Linked DNA regions of Homo sapiens: regions 1, 3, 4, 5, 6 and 7 are each linked to region 2. The links are contacts of gene promoters, found by promoter capture Hi-C in human tissues and cell types (Jung and others, 2019). All regions are on one chromosome and are shown on one strand. The core of a region is centred on a gene start or on the middle of the fragment in contact, and the rest is flanking DNA. Distances in the headings are between cores, read along the strand shown. Region 1 overlaps SUGCT (succinyl-CoA:glutarate-CoA transferase). Region 2 holds the start of INHBA (inhibin subunit beta A). Region 3 overlaps SUGCT (succinyl-CoA:glutarate-CoA transferase). Region 4 has its middle 49 kb from the start of LINC01450. Region 5 has its middle 72 kb from the start of LINC01450. Region 6 has its middle 24 kb from the start of LINC01449. Region 7 overlaps SUGCT (succinyl-CoA:glutarate-CoA transferase).

Region 1 (3,764 bases), core at 548-3,047, 910 kb before region 2:
GTTGACTGTAGGTGGAGAATGGGCCAATCATGGGAACACGAATAGCAGTGCTTCATGTGACAGCAGTATACATTAAGGAGTGGTAATTTGGTACCCATATTAGTTTTAAAGACAGTTTGATTTTGAGTATGTCAGCTTTCATGGGACTGAGAACTAATAAGAATCAGGTACTGGGCCTTTGGAGCACAAGGTTAGATCTAGTTGGAGTTCCCTTAGACAAGTTGTTCCCAAATTTTTCCATGTATCAGAATTGCTTAGGAAGGCTTTTAAAAGTACAAATTCCTGTGCTGGAGATTCTATTCAGTAGATCAGGCACAGTCCAGCTATTTGTATTATTTAAGAACACTCCTTAGATAGTTATAATGCATATCCATATTTAGGACGCATTGTCTTAGACTATCTCCATACAACATTCATATATGCCTTGTTTTAGCTGATTTTTAAAGCCATAATTAGATTTCATGAGTTACTGGATTTGCCTGCATTATACTTATAAATTTGATTCTAGATGGAATTTCTGGTTGATTTTCTAAGGCACACATCTCTGGGTTTGCAGAAGAGGTGGAATGGAGGGGTGGCAACAAAAATTGGAATTTGCGTCTTTGATGTGGTAAATAGTCAGCCAAGCTCACTACTCCTGTCCCTAGAGACTGCACTTCAGAAATGATGAGTGATTACTCTTAATTTTAATGACATTCTTTCTCTAGTTAGTCATTTCATTGGTCAGCTTCTGATACTTTTTACTTTGTTTTCATAGTTATAGGATATTATACAAGACTATTTGCATTGACTAGTAACATCTATGCTTGTGGCTGCATTCTTGCTGTTGAGAAGTCAGCGTTCTAACTGTTGTTACTTCATAGGTAATCTTTTCTCTTTCTCCTTCGACTTTTAAATTTAAATTTTTGTCTTGGACTTTATTTTTTGCTGTTATTGTTTACTTGTTAGTTTTGTTTTTGCAGTTTTACTAAAAATGTAAGATGTATCTAGGTATGGATTTATTTATATTTTTATTATCTTGTTTATAATTTGTTTGACTTTTTGAATCTGAGAAGTCATGTCTGTCAACAGTTCTGGAAGATTCTTCAAATGTTGATAGTCTCTTTTCTCCTTCTAGAACTCCAGTTAGCTGTATGTTAACCCTGATTACTTTATCTTTCATGTCTTTTAACTTTCATATTTTTAAAGTCTGATTATTATCTTCAGTTCTGTTTGGCAGTTCACTTAATGTCTCTTCAGCTGTATCTAATCTGCTGTTTGCAGTTTGCTAAATGTCTCTTCATCTGTATCTATACTGTTTAACCTTTCCATTGAGTTTTTAAATTAATGATTTACTTATTTCTAAAAGTTATGTTTTCACATGTTATTCTTATAGAGTGATTTTTTTTCTTATAACTTTGATTCTTCCTTTTTAAAACGTTTATATGTTGGATTTGATAATCTAATAGCTGAACTATTTAAGGATCTGATTCTTTCATTTATTTGTTTTGCTTTCTCTAGTTCATGGTAATTTATTTCCAGGTATGTTTAATATGTTTTGTTCCTTGGAACTTTACCTGTCAGAATTCTTTGAGGTCCAGCTCAAGAGCATATTCCTTCGTGTTTGTTTCTGATAGACACCTATGATACTTCAAACTAACAACTTTTTTAGCTACATTTCACCTTATAATGTTTGTTACTCTCAAAGTGGTGTGAATTCAGGCTATAAATCTGTATGAGGTCTGACTTATGGTTAAATTCTCAAGGAAATTATTTTATCACCCTCCATGCTGTGTCAGGGTTCTTGCCATTGTTCCATGAGATGTATTTTATTTATAGTTCACCATTTCACTGAGGTTATAACATTTTGGGAAGCCCAGCTTTATGGAGGGATCACAAATATGACTCCTCATCTTGTACAACCCTTAAGCTAGGTTTTCTGTTCTTCCTGTGGTCATTTATACCACAGCTATAAGTCAGAAAGTATTGACAGATGCTCCTGGGGAAGCTGCTAGCTTCGGAACTCATTTAATATTTTACCATTTGCTGTGTGTACTGGATCCTCCCCACTCTCCTCCTGCCTTCCGGAAAGATTTTTTATTTATTTTTTATCAATGTAGCCATACATTTAAAATATTTTAAATCTGTATCCTAACATTTTTTTAATGTCCTGCGTCGAGAAGATATTTTCAGGATAGTTAGTCCACCATATTTCCATAAATAGAAGTTTTGTGTTCTTTTTAAAACTTAAGAAAAACAACTTCATTCTTCAATTTTTATTTCATGCCACAGACATTTTGAGCAATCAGATAATACAAGAATTTATGGGAATTTTAATAAACATCTTTTTCAATATGCTAATATATTTCTGGTGAGTAAATATACACCTGGAATAGCGCTTCCCAAAGTAAATGTTCCATAGAACACTAATTGTAGTTACATGATAAAATAAGCTTGGGAAACACTGGGTTAAGCAAACTTACAGATTTCCTTCTTGAATAAATTGCATGATGTATAATACACCAGTGGGCTCAAGCATCTTTGAGAGTAGGATAACTTATACCCCTGTCTTCCCAGAGGTGCACTGAAAGAAAGCTGGCTTAGACATAAAATGACTTCCCCAAAGCCATAGAGGTAGTTAGCAGAGAGCCAAGACAAGAACCCAGTTCTCCTCACACTCCCTTTCTCTTTATTACCACAATGAAACATTTTGTAAATAGCTACTTGCAAAACTATTTCCAGTAGGACCCCATCCTCAAATTGAAATGTGTTTAAAGCCCATCTTCTTTCACCAAATAAATGAAAGTTGGCTTCTCTCCTAAAAACAGCTAAATAGGAATGTTCCAGAAGTTCTTCAAAATAAAATCTTCACGAAAAAGAACTTCTAGAAGTTCTTCAAGAAAAATAAAATCTTAAGTAGAAAAGCAGGGGTTCCATATCTTGAACTGAAGTCAAAAATTGATGCTTTTGTGGGGCTTCAATCCGCATCGACACAGAGATATAATAATCCTGTCTGATTGTTAAGAGGGCTTGTATTCTCTTGAAAATCATAGTTTCTAGTTGGCAAGGAGCAAACTCCCAAGAACAAGTTGTGACAGAAAACTAAAAAAAAACTACTTTTGGATTTCAACCAGCAGAATGTGCATAGTTTCTGACTGTTAGTGTATTCTTCCCCCTATTACGGAAAATGGACTATGGGAACTTGGGAAGGTGAAGTGCAATGTTATTTACATTTTTGTGCCAAAACATTATGAAGTGAAATGGTCAAACATGCTGAGAGAATGCAGCATATGAAAATTAATAGGAACATTTTGAATATGTGATCTTTTACTTGAAATAATATAAATGAAAAGGGTTCTGTGGAGGTACTTTCTTGACCTCTTTTAAATGTTTCTTTTTCTTTCTTTCTTTTTAAACACTCTCAATTGTTTATAATAACCCATTTGGATCCTAGACCTCAAAGTTCTTTCCTTTCAGAATTTCCTTTTCTCTGTTTGTCTGTGTACAACAAATACCTTTCAGGAAAAAAAAACCACACAGTGTGTTGAGCCCACTAAATAGTCAGTAAAAGATGTCTAATAGCATCTAGAAGTAGGAAACGAGATGAGTATTGGGTTGGGGATCTGAGTGTTGGTGTCCCATTTAGTCATCAATCCATGAAAACAAGTGATTATATGCAAAGGTATTCAAAAGGGATGAGAACACTGATATGGTAAGGAGAGAACTTCTGACTGAAAGCTAGAGAGTGACCTGGACATTTCTGAGAAGATGCTTGGGAGGATGGC
Region 2 (3,882 bases), core at 965-3,464:
AGAAAGGATTGGCCCTAAGTAAGTGAGTGAATGGAGAGGGAGGGAGTTTGCTGTGAGTAGGGCTGTGATTAGGGAGGGAGGGACAGCCCGTTTTCTGACAGGCTGCTCTCCTTCTGCTCTTAGCTTCCTCACAGACACCTCTCTTCAAATATCACCATTTTCGGGGGTTCTACTTTCTCTTCTAAAATAAATTATCCTAATTTTGTTCACTATTTTTTTTTCTTTCTCTGCCCAGTCTCCTGGTTTCACCTTCTTCCTTTTTTGGAGGGGAGAAAAGAAACCCCAAACAAACACAGTGTCTCAATCAATAGGGATGAATTGATTGAAAAAGTGTTCCCACCGCCCCTCCACCCAGCCAAGCCACAGCCCTAGGTGGTAGAACGCCCACCTGGCCACGTGGTGGGGCAGAGGGTGCAGGGAGGTCCAGTGGACAGGTAGTGGAGGTCAGGGAAGAGGGACTCAGGGGTAACAGAGGATTGTTCTGGCCTGATGGGATCCAGGGGAGATGGTCCTTTCCCCCAATTCATTCATATTTAAATGTTCAGGTCATCAACACTGGCAGGCAATCTGAGGAGAGCGCAATGGAACTTTTGTTTGGGGTCATATAATACACTCCACTCTTCCCAACTGTGAAATGCAGCAGGGCACTGAAGGACCAGAGGGCAGGCAGCCTGTCACAAGCCCAAGTTCCAGAAGCGCTTTCTCCCCGTCGCGTTCAGCTGCCCCCTTCTGCCGGGGACCCACTCACTCTCACACATTACAGCCTACCACCACTCGCCGGACTTCACAGATAAAATGCAAAATTCTCTTGGCCTTTCCCACATCCTTTTATAAAAAGAGTGCACTCGTATGACTTGAATAACTGGTCCTATGGGAAAAGACTCTCTAAAATATATTGGCAAATTATTTTTCTCTGTCATGTGGTAGTTTTTTCAGCTTGCCCCAAGCCTGTCCCGACCAGTGCATTCATAGACAGCCTCCTTGACTGCTTCTTTTTCCCTCAAAGGAACAGTGCAGATGAAATCATCATGGATTTTAGTGTGCACAGAAAAAGAAAAATGTGAATTTTTTAACAATGCCTTTCTAAGGCTTAAAAAAAATTCTTCCCCCTCCCCTCTTTTTCATTTTCTGTCTTATTGCTTTTATCTTGCAGAAGAATCTTTAAGGGGTCCATCTGTTAAAGCGTTCCTTCCCTCTCGGTTTCTTTCCCACACATAAGCCCTCTTGGTTTCTGAAGATACACTCAGCTTATATCTGACACCTAGTGTGTTCATAGCATTACAGTCAAGCAATGCAGTTTAGGTGGAAAGAGTTAATAAATATCATTACTACAAGATAAGATCTGAGTGCAAGGGGAAGAGGGCAAGAAAATTGTGACACTAAGTTATAATTACAGTTTGCACAGGTTAACAATGCTTTCTGAATTATATATACTGTCCCCTTTTCCAAAACAACTATTTGTAAGACTTTTTCTGTTACAAGTAACCTAACACCTTTGGGGTTTCAGCTCCAGAAACATCAATTACTCCACCATTATTGTTAAAACTTTGTCAACATTGCCTAAAAAGCCTCATATTTTTTACGGGGATGGTGAAAGAGAATGGGGGAGGCAGGGGACATTTGTGTTACAATGGTTTTATAAAAAATCTTTGTGCTATAATACTTAACATCATCCACCTATTTGGAGTCACATATACAGTACCCAAAATGTTTTGCAGTTCAATTAAGTTTTACAAGAAAGTCTGAAATACAACCAAAAGTTTAATGGCTCTAAACAACTCAGGAGTCCTAATAGCAGCATTTAGATAAGTGCAACTTATCAATATTTGGATTCTCTCTGCATCTGAGTATGTGTGTGTTCCCTGAATTTACTGTTTGCGAATGTAACTCTTAAAAATAGCTTTCTCTTTGGCATATGTACTTGTATATATGTGCTGAGTGGCTTGTATAAACATATAATCTATTTGCATGCTCTAGGACTATTAAAAGCTGTATTAACCTGCCTGAATAATATAAAAAGGTACACATCACAATGCACATTGGAAATGCCAATTAGTTGTAAAATTCCTCCTAGCTTTCCTATCTTTGAATGTGTAAAGAGCTCAGAAGTAAGAGTTAAAAAGCATTACCTTTCTGGTCCCCACTCTTCCACCAGCCGGCTCTTGTATCATGTGGTAAGAGCTGTCTGAGCTCCTCTTCATGGTATTGGCACTGTGAAGTTTTATACTGTACTACTTATTTGTACACCACACATTGGTACCACTGAAACAGAGGAGGGCTGGGGCTTTGTTTGGGATTGGTTGGAATCAGCATGACATCAGCGGATGACTGGTTTTTCCAGTGTGAGACATTTCATAATTCATTATCTAATGGAAAGCCCTTCCTGGCTTCTGAGACACTACTGGGTGATGCACTGAGCCAGTGAAACCTCTGGCTAGGATTACTCTACCTTTTAGAAAAACATTGGAATCAAATAGATATGTCTCAATGAGTGTGTCCAACTTTCAACTTTTACTACTCGCACACACGTCTCGTTATATTCAGGTTCAGTTTTATGTCTTTACATAAAACATCTGTTACTTCATGAAGTTGCTTCTATTTACAAAGTATTTTATTGTTTCTTTCAGGAAAGAAAATTGGTAGTGTTCTTTATAGGGATTCTAATTTTATATTTTTAAAATAAGCTATTTCATTGAGGAAAAAAATTGGGAAAATCTGTATAATCATATGATGATGGTCTCCCCCGACCCCAACCAACTTACACTATTATTTTACATCTTGAAATTGAATGCCTGCTTCATAAATCAAGAACTTTGGAAATAGTAATTCTCTTTAAATGAACTTCATAAGTATCCTTCCCAGGTCTTTAGAATCTCATTCTAACTAACCAAACACACACACACACACACACACACACAACAACAACAACAACAAAAACCCTCATGCATCATTCTTTTTTACCAGAACTTCAACTCCTATAATTTCTAAATTGTTACAAATATAACAGCAGATTAATGAAAAGAAGTGAACACTCCTTGAAATAGGGGTAAAGCTGGTCAGGCTTTTTTTGTGGGGGAGGGGTGTTGGCAAGTCTGGTAAATAACACAGGAGGAAGGGGTCCTCTGACAAGAACGGTGAAGGGTTGTTTGAAGGACTACAGTTGAAGCATAAGCCCAGTTCTCATGACAAGTTGGATAAAATGTGCAAAATTGGGAGCTAATGAGAGCCATATGACCAGATATGTTGTTTTGTATGCAGGATTTAACATGCATAAAATAAACTTTTCACTGTGCCCACAAGCAAAATATAGAGGCTCTGGCCTCCTGATGTGTGGCTTAAGCAGGTTCCATTAGGACACCAGAAGTTTTCTGTGTAAAAGGGTCTCTCTTGGCTAGATACAGAGAAAGTGTGGGTGCTGAGCTGCATGGGGGTGGGGGGAAGGAGTATTCTAAGAACTGCATATGCAGAAATGAAGTAGGAAAAAAATCATTAGGTTGTAGAGGAAGAGAGTGAATCTGAGTGGCGAAGACAGAAATAGGATTAATGATGGTGAACTCCAAACCTGCCCCTCAGCTTAGCACTGGGTGAACTCAAACCCTTTATAAGAAAGAAACTTCTCCACCCTTTTTGCTGAGAATTAGTGGAGTCAATGACCTTCAGGGCATCTAAACTCACCCCTGACCCACACATGAACCCTAGTGTCCTGAAAACATCCCCTCCGCCTCCACACAAAGTAGTGTGTGTGTGTGTGTGTGTGTGTGTGTGTGTGTGTGTGTGTGTGTAGGTGACGTGGGGTGGGGGTGGGGGGCACAAAACAAACCCAGATCAGATCCCAGTTCCTCTGCTCACTCACCGTGTAAACTCAGGCCTCAGTGTTCCCAT
Region 3 (3,495 bases), core at 332-2,831, 940 kb before region 2:
CTATGCAGAATGATCCTTGAGATTAGAGGTATGTTTTAAATAATCCGAGTGGACCATTGAATGTTAACCTGAATATAGAAATCAAAAGAAAAATAAAAAGCCACAGGAAGAGTAAAAGGCTAAATGATGGTATACCGTTTTTGCTATTGTGTCAGAAGATGTATCAGAAATTTTCATCAGTTCTTGATTGCGTTCCTGGTATATTAGCTGCAGCCAACCTTCACTGAGTGCACAAAAAAGTCTTTCTGGATCAACTTTAAGTACTGACTTTACGATAAGCATTTAGGGAATAAATTAATCAAATTTAATTAGACATGTAAACTGATTAGAGAAGTAAAAACAAATATCTTACAATAGCTAAATACAAAAGTTTTAAAATTATCTACCAGTTTGGACTTCAGTATCATGGCGTTAACTTGGAGAATCAAGAAGTGACATTATCTTTGCCTCCAAGTGGCTTCAGCTAGGAGTGAGTTGCTTGGCTTTATGGTTGGGTTTATTCATGGTTGGACAGGGAGTCATTTTAATCCTTTCTCAAAGAGGAGTGGCTTTGCTTTCCTTCAGCATTACCAAGAAGGGACTTCTTGGTGCATGAAGAGATAAATTGGGCTGAATTTCATGGAATTTTTTTTTTAATGATCAGTCTTTAAGATGTCAAGAAGTATTCTGATTAAGAAGACTTAGATAAAATATTTATCTTTACTAAGCCAGATGGAGCAAGCCACCTTTTTATTTAAAATGATTGTAGTTTAATTTTGACTAAGCATACAATGTTATGATAATATTAAAAAGATGTTGGTGGAGATAAAGAAATGGTAGTAAAGGGGTTAAAGAAAAACCTTCAGATACCTTACTATAATCAATAGGAAATGTATCATATCCCATTTTTCATATCATCCCCAAACCTTCAGGATTTGGGGGCACTGAGCTAGGTATGTGGGCCTTATTGCTTCTCTCCTCAGCTGGAGCGAATCTTATTTGTCCTGTATGTATCAGCTTTAATGAAACCACATCTTCATGTTGTCATATCTTTATCTGGGTATGGCATTAACAGTCAGCATGTCTCAGTGTTCCTCCTTTGAGTAAGATGTTCTAATACCACATAGGAAGGGGGGCCCGAGGGACCTTGAAATGCTTCCCTAATTTGCCCTTTATCTGAACATTGTGTAAGTCAGAATGGGCTGTGTGCCTCTTGGAGTGGGTTGCCAATTAGTCTAATCTGCTTACAACCCTTGTGTCTGTTTGAAATGTTCCTAAGAGCTCTAAATCCTGGGTTATTTCAAGAAGCCGTAAGCATTTCAAACAGTTAAGCAAAAACCAAATTTTAATCAAATTAAAAATGAAAAAAATTAATAGCAGGACATTTTGGGCATTTGAGGCGTGGATGTGGTCAAATAAAAGTACCAAGAAGATGCTGCAGCCACAAAAACTAAAGAAGCACTACCCTCCGTAGACTTAAAGAATATCTGCAACAGAGACTAATTCTGCTTTCTCTTTGTTGCTGGGCCTTCAAGTTCATGTGTGACCTTAAATAACTGACCTCAGCTTCTAGTGCCTTGTTTTCTTGTTCTAATGGGATTAGTCTTTTCATCCTTTTAATTTAATGGAAAAATGCAATTCACTGTGCTGCATTTAACTATATTTTGTGAATAGGTTTTAATGGCATAATTGCTGTGGAGCATTCAAATTTGAGAGGAGGGAATGTAAGTAAATAAACATCTGCTTAATACTTGTCTATATATGGTATATATATGAATACTTTATATACACCATTTGTTTCTTCTCTGGGACAATTCAGTAAACCATATTACTATGTCCATTTTACAGATAAGAAAATAGAGATTTGCTTAATGTTGCTATACCAACCAATGTTAGTGTTGCAATTCAAACCCAGCTCTGGGTGTATCTTTAATCTGTCCTCTTTTCTCTATTTACTATTATCTCCTAAAGTTGAGCCAAAAAGGGAAGTTGAACCAACTATTGAGTTTTTTTTTTTACCTTACTTACATTAGTCTCTAATTTAAAGACTGCTGGATATATTTTAAATGTTTTATTTGAAGATCAGTTGACATTTATTTAAATAATATTTACATTTTAAGAATTTAAAGTTAGATTCAGCCTATTTTGGGATTACCTGTTTTGGGATTACCTATTTTGGGATTACGTGGGTTTTTTTGTTGTTGTTGTTTTTGTTTTTTTAACAAAGTCTGTAATTGTGTTTCTATTAAAAAAAAAAGCAGCAGCAGCCATCAGAAAATGTATTGTTAGGCCATTTTAATATTCTCAAGAGTATATAAGTGTAAATGCACCAAAACATGTGGACTACATTTCCCGCTAGTTGTACTGTTTTCACACATTAACAGAAATGCTGTTTGGAAGGGGAATAAAGGAGATATGTTTGGGATATATATGCAGATTTCAATCATCAAAAGACCCAAGATATTAAGCTGCCTCCTGGAATCACCCAGAATTTTTGTCTTTCCAGTGATCTCTGTGGCCATGGTGCTGTGTGGGCAAATTTCCTCTTGCTGACCTGGGGCTGGTTTTATTTCAAAGTTACAGCCTGATTCCTCAGAGCAGCATTAATTAAACTGCAAACAATGTTGTGTTGGTATAATAGAGTTAAGATGATTTTTCTTCCCCAAGCATGTGGTTGATACTATGGCCAGAAAAGTTTAAAAGTAAATTAGTGACAAATACTGCGTGATTCCATATAAGGTACTTAGAGTAGTCAAGGTCATAGACACAGAAAGTAGAATAGTGATTGTCAGGGGCTGGAGGGAGAGGGGTATGGCCAGTTAGTGTTTACAGAATACAGAGTTTCACTTTGGGAAGATGACAAAGTTCTGGAGATGGATGGCATAATAGTTGCACAACAATGTGAATGTACTTAGTGCCACTAAAGTGTACGCTTAAAAATGGTCAAAATGGTAAATTTCATGCTATATACATTTTCAGCTACAACAAAAATATGATTCATAAAAATATTAATTAACTTCTATGATGTTTTCATGTGTACATGTAGAATGCATGTGTGGTGTGCATACAAAATAGGCTAGAATGGAGAGCATGTAGGCTTAGTCACCGAGACCTGAGCTCAAAGCCTGGTTTTGCAATTTATGTTTGGAGATCATTGACAGGCTGTCTCACGTATTTCAGTGGCAGCTTTCTTATCTGTGACAGGAAGACCAAATACTCACTGCAACTTATAATAATTAAATAATAATAAATGTCCAGTGCTCAGCACATAGAAGGATTAAGTGGAAACACAGTATAGATAGTTAATAAACTCGTAGCTTCATCTACAGTAACAAGTAGTCTTGGGGAAAAATAAAACTAGCCACATCATTAATTTTTCAACCATTAAACCTTGAAACAATCACGCATGTTTCTCTAAGAAATAACATAAAACAAATCATCCTTTCGTTTAACAAATGTTTATCCAGTGTTTACTCTGTGCCAAGTCCTGGCTGACAAGAAGCACTGTGTAATGGG
Region 4 (3,518 bases), core at 191-2,690, 770 kb before region 2:
ACGTTAGGTATTTCTCTTAATGCTATCCTTCCCCCAGCCCGCCACCCCCTGACAGGCCCCGGTGTGTGATGTTACCCACCCTGTTCTCATTGTTCAATTCCCACCTATGAGTGAGAACATGCGGTGTTTGGTTTTCTGTCCTTGTGATAGTTTGCTGAGAATGATGGTTTCCAGCTTCATCCATGTCTCTGCAAGGGACATGAACTCATTCTTTTTTATGGCTCCATAGTATTCCATGGTGTATATGTGCCACATTTTCTTAATCCAGTCTATCATTGATAGGCACTTGGGTTGGTTCCAAGTCTTTGCTGTTGTGAATAATGCCGCAATAAACACACGTGTGCATGTGTCTTTATAGAAGCATGATTTATAACCCTTTGGGTATATACCCAGTAATGGGATCGCTGGGTCAAATGGTATTTCTAGTTCTAGATCCTTGAGGAATCGCCTCACTGTCTTCCACAATGGTAGAACTAATTTACACTCCCACCAACAGTGTAAAAGTGTCACTATTTCTCCACACCCTTTCCAGCATCTGTTTCCTGACTTTTTAATGATTGCCATTCTAACTGGTGTGAGATGGTATCTCACTGTGGTTCTGATTTGCATTTCTCTCATGACCAGTGATGATGAGCATTTTTTCATGTGTCTCTTGGCTGCATAAATGTCTTCTTTTGAGAACTGTCTGTTCATATCCTTCACCCACTTTTTGATGAGGTTGTTTGTTTTTTCTTGTAAATTTGTTTAAGTTCTTTGTAGATTCTGGATATTAGCCCTTTGTCAGATGGGTAGATTGCAAAAATTTTCTCCCATTCTGTAGGTTGCCTATTCACTCTGATGGTAGTTTCTTTTGCTGTGCAGAAGCTCTTTAGTTTAATTAGATCCCATTTGTCAATTTTGGCTTTTGTTGCCATTGCTTTTGGTGTTTTAGTCATGAAGTCCTTGCCCATGCCTATGTCCTGAATGGTATTGCCTAGGTTTTCTTCTAGTGTTTTTATGGTTTTAGGTCTAACATTTAAGTCTTTAATCCATCTTGAATTAATTTTTGTATAAGGTGTAAAGAAGGGTACCAGTTTCAGCTTTCTACATATGGCTAGCCAGTTTTCCCAGCACCATTTATTAAATAGGGAATCCTTTCCCCATTTCTTGTTTTTGTCAGGTTTGTCAAAGAACAGACAGTTGTAGATGAGTGGTGTTATTTCTGAGGCCTCTGTTCTGTTCCATTGGTCTGTATATCTGTTTTGATACCAGTACCATGCTGTTTTGGTTACTGTAGCCTTATAGTATTGTTTGAAGTTAAGTAGCGTGATGCCTCCAGCTTTGTTGTTTTTGCTTAGGATTGTCTTGGCTATGCAGGCTCTTTTTTGGTTCTATATGAACTTTAAAGTAGTTTTTTCCAATTCTGTGAAGAAAGTCATTGGTAGCTTGATGGGGATGGCATTGAATCTATAAATTACCTTGGGCAGTATGGCCATTTCCATGATATTGATTCTTCCTATCCATGAGCATGGAGTGTTCTTCCATTTGTTTGTGTCCTCTTTTATTTTGTTGAGCAGTGGTTTGTAGTTCTCCTTGAAGAGGTCCTTCACATCCCTTGTAAGTTGGATTCCTAGATATTTTATTCTCTTTGAAGCAATTGTGAATGGGAGCTCACTCATGATTTGGCTCTCTGTTTGTCTGTTATTGGTGTATAGGAATGCCTGTGATTTTTGCACATTGATTTTGTATCCTGAGACTTTGCTGAAGTTGCTTATCAGCTTAAGGAGATTTTGGGCTGAGATGATGGAGTTTTCTAAATATACAATCATGTCACTTGCAAACAGGGACGATTTGACTTCCTCTTTTCCTAAATGAATGCACTTTATTTCTTTCTCTTGCCTGATTACCCAGGCCAGAACTTCCAACACTCTGTTGAATAGGAGTGGTGAGAGAGGGCATCCCTGTCTTGTGCCAGTTTTCAAAGGGAATGCTTCCAGTTTTTGGCCATTCAGTATGATACTGGCTGTGGGTTTGTCATAAATAGCTCTTATTGTTTTGAGATACATTCCATCCATACCTACTTTATTGAGAGTTTTTAGCATGAAGGGCAGTTGAATTTTGTCAAAGGCCTTTTCTGCATCTATTAAGATAATCATGTGGTTATTATCATTGGTTCTGTTTATATGATGGATTACATTTATTGATTTACATATGTTGAACCAGCCTTGCATCCCAGGGATAAAACTGACTTGATTGTGGTGGATAAGCTTTTTGATGTGCTGCTGGATTCAGTTTGCCAGTATTTTATTGAGGATTTTCACATCAATGTTCATCAGAGATATTGGTCTAAAATTCTCTTTTTTTGTTGTATCTCTGCCCGGCTTTGGTATCAGGATGATGCTGGCCTCATAAAATGAGTTAGGAAGGATTCCCTCTTTTTCTATTGATTGGAATAGTTTCAGAAGGAATGGTACCATCTCCTCTTTGTAGTTTTGCTAGAATTCGGCTGTAAATCTGTCTGGTCCTGGACTTTTTTTGGTTGATAGGCTATTAATTATTGCCTCAATTTCACAGCCTGTTATTGGTCTATTCAGAGATTCAACTTCTTCCTGGTTTAGTCTTGGGAGGGTGTACATGTCCAGGAATTTATCCATTTCTTCTAGATTTTCTAGTTTATTTGCATAGAGGTCTTTATAGTATTCTCTGATGGTGGTTTGTATTTCTGTGGGATCAGTGGTGATATCTGCTTTATCATTTTTTATTGCATCTATTTGATTCTTCTCTCTTTTATTCCTTATTAGTCTTGCTAGCAGTCTATCAATTTTGTTGATCTTTTCAAAAAACCAGCTCCTGGATTCATTGATTTTTTGAAGGGTTTTTTTGTGTCTCTATCTCCTTCAGTTCTGTTCTGATCTTAGTTGTTTCTTGCCTTCTGCTAGCTTTTGAATGTGTTTGCTCTTGCTTCTCTAGTTCTTTTCATTGTAATGTTAGGATGTCAATTTTAGATCTTTCCTGCTTTCTCTTGTGGACATTTAGTGCTATAAATTTCCCTCTACACGCTGCTTTAAATGTGTCTCAGAGATTCTGGTACATTGTGTCTTTGTTCTCACTGGTTTCAAAGAACATCTTTATTTCTGCCTTCATTTCGTTATTTACCCAGTAGTCATTCAGGAGCAGGTTGTTCAGTTTCCATGTAGTTGTGTCGTTTTGAGTGAGTTTCTTAATCCTGAGTTCTAATTTGATTGCTCTGTGGCCTGAGAGACAGTTTGTTGTGATTTTTGTTCTTTTACATTTGCTGAGGAGTGCTTTACTTCCAACTATGTGGTCAATTTTGGAATAAGTGCAGTGCGGTGCTGAGACGAATGTATGTTCTATTGATTTTGGTTGGAGAGTTCTGTAGTTGTCTATTAGGTCCGCTTGGTGCAGAGCTGAGTTCAAGTCCTGGATATCTTTGTTAACCTTCTGTCTCATTGATCCGTCTAATACTGACAGTGGAGTGTTAAAGTCTCCCATTATTATTGTGTGGGAGTCTAAGTCTC
Region 5 (3,948 bases), core at 407-2,906, 800 kb before region 2:
AAAATTTACCATTTTAAATTTTTTTTTTCTTTTTTTTTTTTCTTTAGAGGCAGGATCTCACTTTGTTACTCAGGCTGGAGGACTGCAGTGGTGCGATCATAGTTCATTGCAGCCTCAAATTCCTGGGCTCAAATGATCTTCCTGTCTCAGCCTCCCAAGTAGTTGGGACCCCAGGCACATGCCACCACACTGGCTAATTTTTAAATTTTTTGTAGAGATGGGGCCTCACTATGTTGCCCACGCTGGTCTCAAACTCTTGGCCTCAAGTGATCTTTGCACTTCCGCCTTGGCCTCCCAAAGTGCTGGGATTACAGGCATGAGCCACTGCACCCTGCCATCATTTTAACCATTTTTAAGTGTATAATTCAGCGGTATTAACTGCATTCATACTGTTGTGCAACCATCATCACCATCCATTTCCAGAGCTGTTTTTTGTTTTTGTTTTTTGTTTTTTTTTTTGCATCAAACTTCTCAACAGTAAAGACCGTGGTGGAGAACATTTTTGATAAACTCAAGGATTTGATCCAAGGAGCTTATGAACCAATGCTATCCCTCAACAGAATTGAGCATGCACAACTCAGGTGATCCTGTACTCTGAAACTTTCTTTCCACAGAACTATTCAAGGAGAAAAGCTTCATCCAAATCAGAGAGAACTGGGGAAACATTGGCCAAAGGACTAATAGTGAGTCTTGGATATATTTAATTATGGATCCCAAACTAAAATAAACGTAGGAACAACGGTAGAAAAATAATGTGTAATTTTTTATTGTCCTGACAAGTATGTGGGCCCTCCATATCTGTGGGTTCCACATCTTCAGATTAAAACAACTACAGATAGAAAATATTTTTTAAATGCAACAATAAAAAAATACAAATAAAAACAATAGAGTATAATGACTGTTTACACAGCATTTACACTGTGTTAGGTACTATAAGTAGTCTAGAGGTGATTTAAAATATGCAAGAGGATGTGCGTAGGTTATATGCAAATACTAAGCCGTTTTATATAAAGGACTCGAACATCCTTGGAATTTGATATGGGAGGTGTTGTCCTGGAACCGATATCCCATGGATACCATGCCTATATAATAATACAACTTTAAAAACTGGGAGAAAGGAGAGAGGAGAAGTAGAATAAGCACATTGATTGCTGCATAGGAAATAGATGGGAATTATAATTTTTAAGAACGCTCTATAACTTAGAGTTGACAAACCAAATAACAAATCTTCCCAGAGAGGGAGCATTCCTTCAAGCATTGCTGGCCTCCCAGAGACTCAAGGAGGTGCTGTTGTTAAGAGTCATGAGCTTAGCTGGTGCTTCTTTGTCTCCATAATAGGATGGGGCTTCAGTTCAGGGTAGGAAGATGGAAGTAGGTTATACTTGTTAGGAGAAATATTTGTTCTGATAGTGTGTGTGTGTGTGTGTGTGTGTGTGTGTGTGTGTGTGTGTGTGAGAGAGAGAGAGAGAGAGAGAGAAGATTGAGTGGGGACTTGGGTTTCTGCCTCAGAATCATGAACTTCACTGACTTCTAAACTCTTTCTTAGCTCAGAAATGCAGTATCAATGTCCTGACTGAGCTCACCCACTACTGTGTTATGTGTCATATTCCCAGACAGAAATCAACATCCCTGAAACATAATTCTATAAGGGGTGGTGTGTAATCTAGTTTTTACCTTCCTGGGCTTTGAATTCCTGATTCTAATTGCAAGGCAAGGCCCATAAATAACAGGTATAATAATACTCGTTTAATATAGCCAACACTTACTGAGTTATCATTCTGTCAGGCGCTAGCCTTGTAAAGCAGTGCCTAAATGTAGTTAACATTTAACTGTTACTGGTTTTATATGCATTGCCTCATCTAACGCTCACAAAAGACCCTATGAAGTAGGTGTTATTACTCTTCCCATTTCACAGCTGAAAAAACTGAAACTGAGATTAAGTATATTGCCTAATATCACATGGTTAGCAAGTTACAGAAAGGCCTTGAATCCAGATTTGTTTAACATCACAGCCTGTTCGCTTAACCACTCTGTTAATTCTGGAGGGATCTTTAACTCAGAATTGCATAAAGATGAGGCAAGGCCGTTGACAATGCCTGAGACACACTGCATTATACAGCTGTAATCTAAGATAAGTTTGACATCATCCTCACCAAAATTGAGATATTGTAACAAGAAAAGTTTATTAATTTATTTATCTTATGAGGGGAGTCAATACTCACCTTTTAATTCTAAACATTAGTAAATAAGGATCCAGTTTCATTACTTACAATGTTTAAAAGTAATTATCTAGTTTTTTTTTTGTAAGATGTATATGCAGATTGGTAAGAAAAATACTCACATCCAACCTCAACCTAACAGAAAAATTGGAAAGGCATCACCAGGACAGCCATTTAAAAGTATGGACCGGCCGGGTGCGGTGGCTCGCAACCTGTAACCCCGGCACTTTGGGAGGCTGAGGCAGGCGGATCACGAGGTCAGGAGATCGAGACCATTCTGGCTAACACGGTGAAACCCCATCTCTACTAAAAAAAAAATACAAAAAATTAGCTGGGCGTGGTGGCGGGTGCCTGTAGTCCCAGCTACTCAGGAAGCTGAGGCAGGAGAATGGTGTGAACCTGGGAGGTGGAGCTTGCAGTGAGCTGAGATCACGCCACTGCATTCCAACCTGGGGCACAGAGCGAGACTCTGTCTCAAAAAAAAAAAAAAAAAAGGACCACAAGTAGATGAAGTTTACTAGAAATCAAAGACATACAAATTAAAACTTAATAATATACCACTTTATTCTATCAAATGGAAATATTTTTAAAATTAATAACACACAATGTTTAAAAAGTATGAGGAAAGAAAGGCAACATTAGAAATAATTCAAAGAGCAATTTGGCCAAATATATCATAAGCTTTAACATTTGCATAGGCTTTGATACAGCCCTTCTTTTCCTTAACCTAGGAATTTGTAATACCATATAATATAAAAAATATAAAAATAGTTAACAGCAGAATATATAGCTACCAGATTTTTCATAGTAATATTGAATCAGGGAATTGGTTAAATAAACTTTGGAAGATTCTTACAATTTAATACCATGTGGCTATTAAACACATTGGAATATCTGTAGCTGTAGAAAAGCATGATGACTTAGTAAAGAAAATACAACAACTTACAAAGTAATATGGATTTTATTGAGTTCTACATGTGTACATGCGCTTTTCTGTATGTATATTTAAATTTTTTTAAATGACCATGGATGGTATGGTTTTATTTTTGAAAAGTATACATAGATACATCATATGCAGAAGAAAATCTTCAGAATGGAATACTCTAAAATACCCCCAAGACTATCTCTGGGTGGTCATTTAAGGTTTTTTCCCCACTTTATTGTGATGTGCTTTTTCTACAATGCATGTATACTGCAAGCACAATCATAAAATTTTATTAAGTAAAAGAGAGTGGAGACCCAATCTGTTGTGGCAGAAATACAGTCTCAGCCATTTCCAAAATCAACAGTTCCTTCTCGGGTCACCTGGACTGGAGCTCTGCCAAGGACAGGCCAAGGTCTGGAAAACAGTAGATCACTTGGTGATCCTGGAAGAACCTGGGAGCCACGCTGCTGGACACTCGATGTTTGGTTTCTGAGTGCGACTGGTCCAAACAGTGCGTGCCTCCACCTGTCTCTTTGACTTACTGCTCTGAAGCATGGCTACATGTCACCCCGGGGTTCGCTAGGCTCCTGCTCATGGGCTGTGGGCCAATGTTTAGTTCCTGAAGGTGTTGTATTTTCTGACAGTCAAAATTGGTTGCTAGATGCAGTGAAACATGAATACAACTGAGGTGTGGGCTGCAGACCTTCCTTTGATGTCACAGGGAGGAGAGAACTACGGGGGAGGCTATTCTTAGACATTGGAGTTCTCCTTCACTAACGACGGCCTTTGCTTGGCTTTTCATTC
Region 6 (3,708 bases), core at 137-2,636, 630 kb before region 2:
CTTGATCTTGAAGATTCCTTCATTTATTCATTCAGTCACTCAGAAAATATTTATTGAGGGCCTATTGCATAAAAAACACCATTCTAGGTCTCAGGGAGTAGTGAACAAAATAGACAAAAGTCCCTGGCCTCATGGAGGGGGACCTAGTGAGGGGAGACAGACAGTCTACAAACTAAAAAATACATCATATGTTATGGTGTTCAGTGCTATGGGGAGATGTAAAGCAAGAAGACAGATTGATAGGACTGAAGAGTTGGATAAAGGTGTTTTTTGTTTTGTTTTGTTTTGTTTTGTTTTTTTAAACAGCATGGCCGGGGGCTGGTAAGGGAAGACCTCAGTGACAGGTGATATTTAAAGTTCTGACCAAAGGAAGTGAGGATGCAAGCCAGGTGGCTACCAGGGGGAAAAGCATTCCAGGCAGAGGGAATAGAAGATGCAAAATCCATAAAGAGGACGCAAGAGTTTAGAAAAAGGCAGGACTACTCATTTTAATAATCTTAACACCCCAAATATACAATTTTATTTATCTAAATTGCTCACAGCTTAGCTTGTATTTTTTCTGCTACGAAAATTAAGAAAGTAATATTAAACTTCATCTGGAAAAATCCAATGCTCAAAATTATGCAGAATAAGAGCAACAAGATAGTGTCAGTCAAATCGGACATTGACCATATCATGAAGTTATCATAACCATACATTTTTGTACTCGAGTAGATTATGTAAAAATGTGCATTTTAGTACTTAATAATTCTGGTATTGTAAATCAGTATTGAAAAGATAAAATAGTCAATAAATAATGTTGACAACTGGTTAGACATTTGAAACATAAATGAAATATTTGTGAATACCTGTGAGGTCTTATACCAAAATAAATTTCAGTTCTTTAAAAATATGTACACCTAAAAACAAATTTACAAAAGACCTAGAAGACAAGGAAATGTTTGTGTCAATATGTGTGTACATGTGTGTACAGGAGTGCAAAAAATCTTTATAAGCAGATATCCAAATCACGACCCTATCAAGGAAACGACTGAACAATAAAGTTAAAATTAACATATAGTAAAAATATGAAAAATAAAATTAAAAGACAAAATCTTAAAAAATATTAAAGCACTCATTGTTGACTTGAAATAGAAAGAACATTTAAAACATATATATGAAAAAATACAACCTGATAGAAACAGTGAAACAAATAGCAAAAGAATATGCAAAAACCTCTTCAAATCTACTTTAGATTAAAATATTCAAATGAAAAAATAAGAAATGACTTTCCATCTAGTAGATTTGCAAAAATAATTTAAAATCATTAATGATATTCAGAGCTGAGAGGAGAGTATGGGGAAATGAGAGTTGTATATTGATGCTGCATTTCCATAATACACATTTCTATAAAACTCCTATAGAAATTGAAATGTGTTTACCATTTGGTGAATTTGAGATTTGATGGAAATGGTGTACAATATTAACAATGTATATAATTGAAACAGAATAAAGATTTAAAACAGATTCAGAATTTAATATATAAAAAATAGGCTTTCAATTCAGTGAGGAAAAATCCTTTATTTAATAAATAATATTGGCTTAATTGGCCATTAATCTACACAAAAAGAAGGCTGGGATCTTCGCCTTACAGTGTATCAAAAATAATTCCAAATAGATTAAAATTTTAAATGCTAAAAATAAAAAAGTAATTCAAAAAACATATTATTTGACCATGCAATCCCACTGCCAGAAATTTATTATTAAGATACATTAAGAAAAATTTTCCAAGCATTTTCTATAAAAAAAAAAAAGACAGGAAATGTCCAAATGTCAGCCAATAGGAATCTAGCTGAATTTTTAAAACATACGTATATACAATAATTTTAAATATATAAAGCTATTTAAAAAAGAATGAGGCAGATCTGTGTTTACATGAGAAAAATCTCATAGCAGTTTAATTTGATGGAAAAAAGTATAAGTTAAAAACAGCATGCTTAATTTGTGTTTGTATAAGTTTTAAAATGCAGTTATACATAAACAATTATATGAATAATAAAATAATAATACTCAGCATTTACTCAATTGTTACTATGTGCCAGGTACTATTTTAAACACTTTACATGCATTGACTCTTAACAACTCTAAAAGATAGGTATTATCAACAGGCCCTGTGACCCAGAAAGTCAGAGTAATTTGCCCAGAGTCCTAGTAAGTGGTGTATGAGGATTCAAAACCAGGCAGTCTAACTCCACATCCTGCACTGTTAACCATTGCTATGCTATAGGTATGCATGCTGAACACCACACACACTTGATTATTTCTGGATACAAAAAAATTATTGGTTGTAGTTACCTGCAGTTGAAGAATAAAAGTTGGGTTCTGGAATATGGGGCACTTACAGTTATTTAATAGCTAACTTTCTGGGCTTGATTTTCTTAAAAAACCATATACAGGTTTTTACTTTTTTTTTATTATTAAACAAACTTAAAAAAAGAGAGAGAGAGAGAAAAAAAAAAGGAAGGGATCTCAAGCATCCTCAGGAACTCCAGGGAAAAATGACTCCAGCTGGCATAAACACCTCTTCATGGCACAGAGCGATGAAACTGGACTTCGCTGAACCTGAGAGCAGTGTGCCCTTTGCCTCTGCACTCCCTTTCCTGAGCTGGTGTATGGAACTGACTTGCTGGAGCAGAACCTGGGTGCCACTGTGTTGCATTTCCTATCAGCAAAGAGATCAGAGAAGGATGCTGTCCTCTTTATCATGTCTCTCCTATCGATCGATCAGGTTCTCTCCTTTTCTGTGTGCCCGACACCATGATACCCAGGAACTCGGACTGCCGCTAGACTCAGGACAAACAACAAAGCTGGGGATGCTCACTTATCATCCCCTGGGAAGGGAGGCCTGAGAGCTGGTACTGGTTGGCCAAGTTCCTGGCAGAGGGCCTTGGTTTCTCTGGCAGGGAAGAAGTCACCATACGTCTCCAGGCACTGGTTAGCTTGCTGCCTCCAAAGGAGTTAACTGTGTTCTTCACTAGAGGACTCAGGTGTCAAGCATGCTGGCAAGGTACTGGCTGCCACCTGAAACCTCCAGAAAGCTACATTGTTCTTTTCCAGGTTCTGAAAGAGAGAGTAAGAGAGGAATCCGGCCATTATTGTTGGGCCCCAGAGAAATAAAATCAGCCCTTCTGAAAATCCAATGTCAGTGTGAACTGATAAAGTACTTGGTGCAAAGGGAAAAATAAGAACTTAGTGGAGCTTCGAAGCTTTATTCCCTCATGCATTCTTGAGTAATGGTTTCCCTGAATCATGCCTTAATTTTTGCAGATGATACAAAGAATGGGTACAAATCAAGTCCTAACATTGAGGCTTGACTCACAGAGTTCAGTGGTTGGGAAAGTTGCAAGTAGGGAATACCCAATAACGTTTATAAGGGAGTGTGTGTGCACGTGTGTGTGCTAATACAAAGAAATGACCATACTACCTTCCAACAGTGAAGCATCAGAGAGGAAAAGTACTTATTTACAGGGTTGGGGTAGGAAAGAAAATGCAAAGGCAGGTTACGTGGACTCAAGAAGTGTTTCAGAAAAAAAAATAAGAGCAGCATATCCATATAGTATATTTATTCTGGCTGCTTCATGAATTAGATTTGTTTTAAAAATCAAAGTTTATAAGACTCATAGTAGATTTTTGGCTTCTTCCTTTACAAGAGATTATTGACATGGGTGT
Region 7 (3,613 bases), core at 446-2,945, 840 kb before region 2:
TGTTAAGTGAAAGAAGCCAGACACAAAAAGTCACAAATTATATATGATGCTATTTATAAGGAGTAGCCAGAATAGATAAATCCATAGGGACAAAAAGTAGATTAATGGTTGCCTGGATTTGGGAGGAATGAGGAGAAGCTGCTTGATCACTTTAAAATGGTTAATTTTATGTTATGTTAAGTTTTATCTCAATAAATTATTATTATTTTTTAATCCAAGTTGTTGAACCCAACAGACGTGAAATTGGAATCTAACTCTATCATTTTCTAGCTGTGTGAATTTGGGCAAGTTATTTTAATTTCCTAACCTTAATCCTAACTTTAACATTTAAACCTCCATTTCCTTCAATGTCCTAATCTGGAAATAAAGATGACTGACAGTCTACCCAAACGACAGGACCGTTGTGAGAACTGTATGCAATGTTGTATTAATACATAAAGCCTTTGGTGCAGTGGTTGACGCATCACAAGTTCTTAAGAAATGGTAGCTGGGCCAGCCTGACCAACGTGGAGAAACCCCGTCTCTACTAAAAATACAAAATTAGCCGGGCATGGTGGTGCATGCCTGTAATCCCAGCTACTGGGGAGGCTGAGGCAGGAGAATTCCTTGAATCTGGGAGGCGGAGGTTGTGGTGAGCCAAGATCATGCCATTGCACTCCAGCCTGGGCAACAAGAGCAAAATTCCATCTCAAAAAAAAAAAAAAAAAAAAAAAAAAGAAAAGAAATGGTAGCTGGACTATGATAGCTATTACTACTACTGTCTTGCTTCAGGTAATTCAAGTGGAGTAAAGTCACATGACATTGACTTCAGGAGGCATATATTGCTTCAAGCAGTTCTTCTTTTGATAGACGGGTTTTAGATTAAAACTGTTTTTAATTAATATCAAAATGGAACAGAGTTGGAGAGAGCAATGAGTAAGGGTCAGATGCCTAAACCATCACATTATTGTCATTCTTGGGAGAGCTGTGGACCCTGCCTCCCAGTGTCTGCTATAGTTGATTTCTCTCTTACTGAAAAGGGACAAACCCTTGAAAAGGTAGTCATGCACTGGGGCATTTAAAAGAAAATGTGAGAAGAAAACGATGAATGTCACTAAGCTTCAGAGAAGGAAAAACTGTAGGCATCAGTTGAAAGTTGTCCCTCTGTAGTGGATTAGATGTGTTACACAAAGGTGCAGCTTGACGGTGTTAGGAGACCCAAGTCCTCCATCTCTGTCAACAGTGGCAAGTGCAAAAGTACTTTTATTAATGGAATTCTCCAAAGAGCTCAAAGCTCGTTTGCTGCTTTACTGATGGGCATTCTTTTACCCACTCATGCTTTGGTTTTATTTGTTCTTCCTATGGGCTCCTCAAATCAAGAGAAAGCCAGAAAAAAAAATTGAGATAGGAATATCCTGTTTTATCAAGTCTTCTTGTGACTACTATATCATTTGTTCTCCTGAAGCCTAATCAAATGAGACATAAAGGACAGCCAACATAAATACCACTTACTGAATGTGATAACAAAGGTAAAATTAGTTGAAACAACATGTTCCCCAGTGTCCAGCCTCTCCGTGGAAGAGTGAGAAGTCAGAAGTGGCTGCTGATGTTATGGAAAGTTCATGGCCTTTAATGGGAGACAGTTCCAGCGGACACAGATTTTCATCCAGGCCCTATGATTAGCTATGTGGCCTTGAGCAAAACTTTAGGTTTTAGGGGTTTTCATGTCCTCATGGGAAGAATGGGGATAGTAAAATCTATTTCCAACAGTTCTTAAAAGCATTGCTCAACTCTGTTTAGAGGAACTTTGTGCCCGGCACCCCTTTTCCCCTTACACTATAAGCTTCAAGAGAGATGTTGTGGCAGCTTTTGTAATCATAGTAACCAACAAGTTTTGTGCATTAGCATGGGTTAGGGAATGCTTACTTAGTGCTTTCTGTCTATGATCTCAATTAAATCCTTACCTGAAGTCTGTATAGTAAACATTATCACATCCAGATTATGGTGTGAAGTTCAGCAATTCATCCAAGATGGCTCTGCTAGAGAGCATAAGAGCGGAGAGCAAAGCCTAAGTCTCTCTGACAGTGAAGCCTGCACACATAACTTCTTCTACCACCAAAAGCCTTGAACCAGGGTCTAGCTGAGGTTTCGGTGATCTGCAGTCAGTTGAACTAAACCTTGGAACTACACAGTAGACATTGAGTAGTCAGCTGCTGGGTTGCTTTCACCTGGGATCAAATTTCCAGCTTCAGAGAGACACTACGTTTCTGTGGTCACTGTTCTTTCCTACCTAGAGTTCACTCAGTTGAGTGCCCTACCTCTGAGTCTTCATGACGGGAACACCAGCTTCCAAATAGGCCCGGCACAAATTAGCTTCATCCATGCAGCCCCACTGCATGGTGATGAGCGAGTCAGATGAGCACTGCACATTTGGATGAACCTGAGTCAAGAAAAGCCACATGTGAAAACACGTTTATTTCCAAAACGTTGATGCATCTGGAAGGGTGTAACTGGCACTCATTGATATTTTTGGCATTCATGGAAAACACCCCAGGCTGCTTAGGTAATTAATTTCGTAGGGTTAGTCATTAACAGGCTTCCTGCTTTCCTTCTCCTTTGGCAGGCCCAGCTGTGAGATACAGTAAGTTCAAGATGTCAGAGGCCAGGCCGCCCCCGCTGCTCGGGCAGCACACAACGCACATCCTGAAGGAGGTCCTGAGATACGATGACAGGGCCATCGGGGAGCTGCTCAGCGCTGGAGTGGTGGACCAACATGAAACTCACTGACAAAGGAAAAGGGCTCTTCCTCATAACCTCGATCCGAATACACTGGCAAAGGCAACACTTTGCTTGGACCCTTCTCCCCAGTTCTGATACCACTAAAAAGAAGATTTAGAGTAACTCCAGATTTCTTACATGGCATCTCCAGAATGGCTCTGGTATTAATGAATCTAGTGCCTTTTAAATGTATCCCACGTTTTGTTCCCTACCATCTTTTTTTTCAGATGATGATTTCATTATGGATTTGTGGGATTTTTAAAAATAAAGTTTTAATTTTTTTCCTGGAAAAATGCACTCCTTATTCTACTTACATTAATGTCCTAAACGTTTGCCCCTTACCCCCCATGCCCTCACCAGACCCCCCGCCCCGTCCATACAGGCCTGAAAAAGAGCAGCTCTCTTGATACTTTCTACTTGTACATAAAATCTGCATTTAAATTTGTGTTAGGGAGTCAAAGCAATAAGCAGAATGACAGTCTCTGTGATTGATTTTATACAGAATAACTTAATTCTGAGCTCTTGAACCCTTTGTTAGTCTCTAATTTAAACCATAGACTTTGCGGATGTCCATTATAAAACTGAGCTCCATTCTCCCCTGTGGGGGTAAATATTTGCTTTATGTTGTATTTCTCTGGTGATTTTATGCTATGTGGCAGAAAGTCAATATTCCCAGTGCATTTAGAGATGTAGGTATCTGTCTGCACAGGTAGGTGAGAAGTGGTTTTACACTTGGTACCTTATTTTGAGCCAAGTGAAAATGCAACAGGGTTTTTAAATGAATTAAACAGGTTCTTAAATGACTATCCAGGTGTTAAATAATTTATACATCATGACAGATAAAAGAATGACAGGA

The links. The method cuts DNA at HindIII sites, captures the fragments that hold promoters and counts their contacts. A contact is called where the count stands out against the background at its distance.
Region 1: a contact is called between a fragment that was not itself captured here and the fragment with the promoter of INHBA in region 2, in 1 of the 25 tissues and cell types used here (lymphoblastoid cells).
Region 3: a fragment that was not itself captured here is called in contact with the fragment with the promoter of INHBA in region 2 in 2 of the 25 tissues and cell types used here (dorsolateral prefrontal cortex and lymphoblastoid cells).
Region 4: a contact is called between a fragment that was not itself captured here and the fragment with the promoter of INHBA in region 2, in 1 of the 25 tissues and cell types used here (mesenchymal stem cells).
Region 5: a fragment that was not itself captured here is called in contact with the fragment with the promoter of INHBA in region 2 in 2 of the 25 tissues and cell types used here (lymphoblastoid cells and mesenchymal stem cells).
Region 6: a contact is called between a fragment that was not itself captured here and the fragment with the promoter of INHBA in region 2, in 1 of the 25 tissues and cell types used here (lymphoblastoid cells).
Region 7: a fragment that was not itself captured here is called in contact with the fragment with the promoter of INHBA in region 2 in 4 of the 25 tissues and cell types used here (IMR-90 fibroblasts, heart left ventricle, lymphoblastoid cells and 1 more).

Annotation. Positions count from the first base shown.
Region 1 is chr7:40,792,639-40,796,402 of GRCh38, forward strand. The region is part of intron 13 of SUGCT (succinyl-CoA:glutarate-CoA transferase); the gene reads left to right. Among named protein-coding and RNA genes, the nearest start is that of LINC01450, 190 kb to the right of the region's middle. The HindIII fragment of the contact is 4,719 bases long and covers 1-3,764 here.
Region 2 is chr7:41,700,876-41,704,757 of GRCh38, forward strand. It overlaps INHBA (inhibin subunit beta A), which reads right to left and starts at 2,215. Exons shown (of 3, transcript NM_002192.4): 1 at 2,130-2,215. The region is part of intron 1 of INHBA-AS1 (INHBA antisense RNA 1); the gene reads left to right. The HindIII fragment of the contact is 9,174 bases long and covers 1-3,882 here.
Region 3 is chr7:40,757,658-40,761,152 of GRCh38, forward strand. The region is part of intron 13 of SUGCT (succinyl-CoA:glutarate-CoA transferase); the gene reads left to right. Among named protein-coding and RNA genes, the nearest start is that of SUGCT-AS1, 210 kb to the left of the region's middle. The HindIII fragment of the contact is 9,992 bases long and covers 1-3,495 here.
Region 4 is chr7:40,929,048-40,932,565 of GRCh38, forward strand. It overlaps a transcript of SUGCT not described here. Among named protein-coding and RNA genes, the nearest start is that of LINC01450, 49 kb to the right of the region's middle. The HindIII fragment of the contact is 4,629 bases long and covers 1-3,518 here.
Region 5 is chr7:40,905,688-40,909,635 of GRCh38, forward strand. It overlaps a transcript of SUGCT not described here. Among named protein-coding and RNA genes, the nearest start is that of LINC01450, 72 kb to the right of the region's middle. The HindIII fragment of the contact is 4,375 bases long and covers 1-3,844 here.
Region 6 is chr7:41,075,504-41,079,211 of GRCh38, forward strand. No RefSeq gene overlaps it. Among named protein-coding and RNA genes, the nearest start is that of LINC01449, 24 kb to the right of the region's middle. The HindIII fragment of the contact is 9,838 bases long and covers 1-3,708 here.
Region 7 is chr7:40,857,714-40,861,326 of GRCh38, forward strand. SUGCT (succinyl-CoA:glutarate-CoA transferase) reads left to right here. Exons shown (of 14, transcript NM_001193313.2): 14 at 2,603-3,050. The coding sequence ends at 2,766. LOC105375242 (a long non-coding RNA gene) reads right to left here. Exons shown (of 3, transcript XR_927191.3): 3 at 718-2,419. Among named protein-coding and RNA genes, the nearest start is that of LINC01450, 120 kb to the right of the region's middle. The HindIII fragment of the contact is 4,060 bases long and covers 1-3,613 here.